2 separate regions of the Homo sapiens genome follow, and region 1 is linked to region 2. The links are contacts of gene promoters, found by promoter capture Hi-C in blood cells and fetal thymus (Javierre and others, 2016). All regions are on one chromosome and are shown on one strand. The core of a region is centred on a gene start or on the middle of the fragment in contact, and the rest is flanking DNA. Distances in the headings are between cores, read along the strand shown. Region 1 has its middle 69 kb from the start of PRSS1. Region 2 holds the start of PRSS1 (serine protease 1).

Evidence for each region. The method cuts DNA at HindIII sites, captures the fragments that hold promoters and counts their contacts. A CHiCAGO score of 5 or more calls a contact.
Region 1: a fragment that was not itself captured here is called in contact with the fragment with the promoter of PRSS1 in region 2 in 1 of 17 cell types (naive B cells); the score reaches 5.2 in naive B cells.

Annotation. Positions count from the first base shown.
Region 1 is chr7:142,678,572-142,681,804 of GRCh38, forward strand. It overlaps TRB and the pseudogene TRBVA. Among named protein-coding and RNA genes, the nearest start is that of PRSS1, 69 kb to the right of the region's middle. The HindIII fragment of the contact is 1,895 bases long and covers 674-2,568 here.
Region 2 is chr7:142,747,575-142,750,790 of GRCh38, forward strand. PRSS1 (serine protease 1) reads left to right here and starts at 1,898. Exons shown (of 5, transcript NM_002769.5): 1 at 1,898-1,950; 2 at 2,981-3,140. The coding sequence starts at 1,911. It also overlaps TRB. The HindIII fragment of the contact is 901 bases long and covers 1,490-2,390 here.

The DNA.
Region 1 (3,233 bases), core at 371-2,870, 69 kb before region 2:
TTGTTTCTGACTTTAAATCAGAAACAATGGAGATCAGAAGATAATGGAGAGGCACTGAAAGAAAAAAATTCCACCAAAAATTCTATATCCAGCAAAACTATCCTCTGTAAATGAAAATGAAATAAAGACATTCCCAGATAAACAAAGGCTACAGAATTGTGTGGTTAGCAGACCTGTCTTACAAGAAATATTAAAGGAAGTCATCCAGCTGAGAGAAAATGACATTGTTAGCAACTAAAATCCATAGTAAGAAATTAAAAGCACCTTAAAGGATAAATATATGTGTGAATAAATATAAAAAATACATATGCACAAACACACATAGAAGGAATATATATTTTGTATATTTTTTATATCATTTGATATACATATATAGGTTGAAACTTTAATCATTATGAAGTGTTTTTCTGTAATAATATTTTTTGCTTTAAAATTTATTTCTCTGATATTAATATAGCCACTCAAGCTTTTATGGTTACTAATATGACATATGCTTTTCCATACTTTACTTTCAATATATTTGTGTCTTTAAAACTAAAGTGATTTCCCATAGTCAGAAAATAGTTGGATTTTGGTCTTTCTATTTTACAACATAAAATCAACTCAAAATAAATTAAAGACATAAGCATAAGACCTGAAATTTTTAAAATACTATTAGAAAACATAGGGGAAAAGCTTCTTAATACTGGTCTTGGTAAACAATTTTTAGATATTACTGCAAAAGCATAGGCAACAAAAACCAAATTAGACAAGTGGGATTACATCAAACTAAAAAGTTTCTGCACAGGAAAGGAAAGGAAAGGAAAGGAAAGGAAATAATCAACAGAATAAAAAGGCAAGCTACAAAATGGGAGAAAATATTTGCAAACCACATGTCTGAAAAAGGATTAATATCCAAAATATATAAGAAATTCACACTCATTAGCAAGAAAACAACCCAATTAACATATGGCCAAATGACCTGAATAGACATTTCTCAAGAGAAAGCATACAAATGAATAAATGTTTATCATTGCTAATTATCAGAGAAATATAAATTAAAGCCACAATGAGATATCACTTCACAACTGATACACTGGCTAACACTACAAAGACAAAAGATAACAAGCATTGATAAGGATGTGCAGAAAAGGGAATCATGTACATTGTTGGCAGAAATGTGTGATGGTTAATATTGAGTGTCAACTTGGTTGGATTAAGGATGCAAAGTATTGTTCCTGGGTGTGTCTGTGATGGTGTTGCCAAAGGAGATTAACATTTGAATCAGTGGACTGGGAAAGGCAGACCACCCTCAATATGGGTGGGTACAATCTAATCAGCTGCCAGCATGGCTAGAATAAAAGCAGACAGAAGAATGTGGAAGGACTAGACTGTCTAAATCTTCTGGCTTTCATCTTTCTCCCATGCTGGATGCTTCCTGCTCTCAAACATCGGATTCCAAGTTCTTCAGTTTTTAGACTCTTGGACTTAAACTAGTGATTTGCCAGGGGCTCTTGGGCCTTCGGCCACAGACTGAAGACTACACTCTCAACTTCCCTACTTTTGATGTTTTGGGACTCAGACTGGCTTCCTGGCTCCTCGGATGGCAGAAGACCTATTATGGGACTTTACCTCGTGTTTGTATGAGTAAATACCCTTTAATAAACTCCTCTTCATCTATCCTATTAGTTCTGCCCCTTTAGAGAACCCTGACCTAATACAGAATGTAAATTAGTACAGCCATTTTGACAAACAGTATGGAGGTTCCTCAGAAAATTAAAAATAGAACTATCATATAATCTAGCAATTCCAGTTCTAGATATAAATCCAAAGGATATGAAATCTGTATGTTGAATAAATATATGTACTCTTGTGTTCCTTGAAGCATTATTCACATAGCCAAAATACAGAATTAACCTAGGTTTCCACCAAGGGATGACTAGATGAAGAATATATGATATAAATTCTGTATATGTATATATAAATATATATATTATTTATACGTATATGTGTATACATACACACATACACACACACACACAATGGAATAATACTCAACCCTACAGAAAAAGGCAATCATATAATTTGCAACAACATGTTTGGACCTGGAGACATTATGCTAAGTGAAATAATTCAGGCACAGAAAAACAAATAATGCATGGTCTCACTTATTCATGGAATCCAACAAAGTCAAACCCACAGAAGCAGAGAGTAGAAGGGTAATTGCCAAGCACTGGGATGGGGTTTCAGGAAGGGAGGCATAGGAAATAGGGAAATGTTGGTCAAAAGGTACATGTTTTAATCAGACAGAAAGAAGTTCTAGAGACCTAATATGCAGCATGATTACTATAGTTAATAATATATGTACTCTTGAAAATTGCTAAGAATGTAGATTTTAAATGTTCCTACCAAAAAAAAGTCAAAACAAAATAAGTATGTGAGATTATGCATATGTTAGCTTGATTTAATTATTCCACAATGTATACATATATTAAAATGTCACAATATCACATTGTATACAATAAATATATATAATTTCTATTTGTCAATTTTAAATAAATAATAAAGAAATGAGATAGCTTTCAACTAAGCTTATATAGCAGTATAATATAAAAATTTTTGTAGTAACAAAATTATAGTAATTTTGGCTTATACTGAAATGTGCATTAAACAAGTGTTTGCATAAAATATAATTCAAATTACTATTCATAGCCCACAGCCATGAAAACATGTGTGCCTTACTCTTGGTACAGAAACAAATAGCTTTTACTCCTAAGGAAAAAAGAAAATTCCTGCCTTTTGATGAGAATTGTTTGAGTTTTATACTTATTTTATGGGGAACTTTGCTGACCTCTTCATTCCACCATAGCTGGTTATTCCTCCCTTGCATGTACTTTTGTTTCCTGGGGGCAGTGAGTCTTGGAAACATTTGGGAAATTCTTATTCTGAGCTTGCCTGCCCACAGCCCAGGTTCCTTCCTGGAGTCTGCAGCACCAGGCTCTCTCCTTGGCTCTCTTTCTGTCTTCTGTCCCCTCAGCTCATAAACCCCAGCTCGTAGAAGCTGAAGCCACCTAGACTCTAAGACACCTGATTGCAGAGACAGGAAAGGAGTTCTCAAGATAAGTGCCAAGATTTCATACTGGTTTTCACAAGAATCAGGGTTGGAATTAGAGCCGACTCATTATTCAGTTAACATTGACATTGTTGATTAGAGACATATCCCTATTGAAAATATTTCCTGGCAAAAAATAGAA
Region 2 (3,216 bases), core at 648-3,147:
AATGCTCTGAGACTAGGTGCCAGGAGAAAGATAAATTCAATCATCCATTTCTACCAGGAAGAAAAGCACCAGGAAGGAATCAGATGTACAGTTTGTCCTCTAGGGACCTCTGTCTTGATCCTCAATAAATCTCCTTTTAGATACCTCCTCTTAGATGAAATTCCCACACTTCACAATGCTCTCCATGGCTTCTGTTGGCCTTATGGTCAGCTCTGCCAAGATCTGTATTCTTGGGCAAGACAGAATCCTTCTGAATCTCAGTCTCTTGCTCTATAAATGGAAACAATTTTGCTCTGCACAAATTACAATTAGCATGTTTGTGGGAAGTTAAAGTGTGAAACTCAGCATAAATGAAAAGTAATGTACCACTGTTGCTTACATGAAAACTCTTGTAAAGTTGTCAGGCACTGTGCACCATCTAAGCATAGCAGTGTTAGGTATGGGCCCATTAGTGATTAGAGGGGGTGCGAGGCGGAGAGGGGGTCTCCAAGCAGTGGGTCTCCTGGCTGTGGGGAAGCTGGCTCAGCAGCCATACCAGGAGCTGAAACCGAAGGTACTCTGTGTGTCCTCTCAACACCATGGGCCCCACTTTGGCATTATTTCCAATTCCCTCTGGTTTCCATTTGCTTCCTCCCTCTAGCCCCCTGGCCAGGTCCGATTTCAACACCAAGTTTCTGAGCTTTTCCCATTTTGTCCACCGTCTCTAGAACATTTCTGCTTCTTTTACCTTTCAAAGAATCCAAACTTGAACTCTACTTACTCCTGCCCATCACCAGCCTGAGCTCAGAGTTGCTGAGAAGGGAAAGCACCCTCATAAGGAAGCTCCTCCTTTCCCTACATCATTAGACTTGAGCACAGACAGCATCTCCATTTCCACACTGCTCTGGCCAGGTTGTGCCTCAGTCAATTACACAACTGTGTCTTAGTAGCCTTGGTAGGGCCCAAATCAGGATATTCTCTAGGAAGATTCACTTTGTACTGAGCCAAGCATAATCTCACTGCATCGAAAATAGAAAATGATCATCTGATCATTCTGGTTCAGACTGTCAGCCCTGAGCAGGTGGGTCAGTTTGCATCACCTGAGTGCAGATTGCAAGGACAACAGTGAGGCTGCATAAAAAGAACCTATGACAGGATGCACATGAGAGAGACAAATGTCTTCACATTGAAGAAGGGGAGGAGTGCGCCATTGGTTTTCCATCCTCCAGAGGCACTGAGAAAGCTCCTACAGAAACTGTGCCCCCTCCTTCTTTGAAACACTTCCCATCCTTAAGCCTTGGTAGGAAGGAGAGAAATCTGGAAGCCCAGAATCCTATGGAATGCTGAGTCTCCCTTCTCCTTACCCCTTAGTGTTGGAATTTTCATTCCCCAAAATCTTGCATTTGACCTTCCTGCACACTGACTGGAGAGAAGCATCTTCATATTCACAGGAATGAGCCTTAGATAAGACTTTGCTCCTCTCATGTGGGCCCCAGGAAACTGAAATCCAAGCTTTTTACCAATGCTTGCCCTTCCTTAAGTACATTAAATACATTCCCAATAGGTGGAAAGATTTGTAAACAGCTAGGCCATTCTCCCTCCTTCTAACCCTCATCTCCAGGGCCTAAGAAAGCCCAGCTCTGTTATCTGGGGCTTGACTTTCCCTGTCTTCCCCATCCCAGTATCCTTGCAGGAAACAGCCGGTCTCGCTCTCTGCTCTCAGAAGGAAAGTTTCCTTATCACCTGTGAATCACAAACCCAGAGAGTGGCCAAACATAGCCAGGCTGATGCAAGACCCTGGGAAGAGGAAAGCTGCAGGTGTGTTTGTGCTGGGAGGAGTGGTGACCCTCACCTCACAGTCACCTCCTCTCTGGATCCTCGTGAGGTATAAAGACGAGTCCTCCACCACCAGTCAGGCACACTCTACCACCATGAATCCACTCCTGATCCTTACCTTTGTGGCAGCTGCTCGTGAGTATCATGCCCTGCCTCAGGCCCCAACCACCCCCCCGTTCCTGGCCGACAAATGCCCTTCCATTCTTACCACCTCTCCTCTTTTGACTGTGCTCTGATATTCCGTTTCCTCCATCTGGCATATCTCCTTCCCATCCTCCTTGGGCTCTTTTTAAGTCTCACCTGTTCACCTTCTCCTTGACTTCACTCCCACCACTGTCATTCATCCATATCCGAGTTGTGGTTGGAGAAGCTGGGAAGGGGGCCAGGTGGGGCTGTCCCACGAAATGAAGCAGCAGGCTTCAGGCTTGGCTCCAACAGCAACAGAATAGCACCACTATAGCTGCTCCTAACCTCGAATGCACCTGGGGAGGTTGAAAAATTACTCATGCCAGAGACTCAGCTCTAGAAATTCTAACTTCAATTGTCTGGGGTAGAGCTTGTGTTCTGGGCTTTTAAGCTTCCCAGGTGATTTTTAATATTTCCAGCCATGCAGCCAAGGTTAAGAATTGCTGTCCTATTGGCCAATAACAAAGTCTACCTTTGTTCTGCCAAAGTGAGCCTGGGGGCTGCCCTCAACTCTGCCCTGACTGCACAGATCTGAGCTATGGGGGAAGGTGGTCATGGCCAGGTCTATGCAGACAGGGGGTTTTCCTAGCTTGGCAAAAGAATCCTGACAATCCAGGGCCCAAATAGCCAGGGGAAGTACACAGGTGATGAATAAAAGAGAGAAGCACTCAGTGGGAGAGACAACCACATCCCAACTCCTATCCCACTGGAAGCATTGTGAGGACATTCCTTGCGACTTCAGCCTGGTGACCCCAGGAGAGCTCGGATCCTCCGCAGGGTACCTAGCTATGTGCCCTGCAGGCACAGAGACTTGGGAGCCACAGGCAGTGATGATCACCAGGGGTGGCAGAGCTCCCTCCCTTGCCTAGCCTCACTGTGCTTGTTAAGGATTTCTAATTAGCAGAAAGCAATCACAGGCTGGGAGCGCCACCCCTAACATGCTATTGACTTGCCTTCTCCCTTCCCATCTCCACTCCAGTTGCTGCCCCCTTTGATGATGATGACAAGATCGTTGGGGGCTACAACTGTGAGGAGAATTCTGTCCCCTACCAGGTGTCCCTGAATTCTGGCTACCACTTCTGTGGTGGCTCCCTCATCAACGAACAGTGGGTGGTATCAGCAGGCCACTGCTACAAGTCGTAAGTGTGGGGCCCCCGACTGCAAAGCTCCCGGCCAGTCTGCCTGGGAGAGCTTGGCTTCAGCCCAGGGAACTAC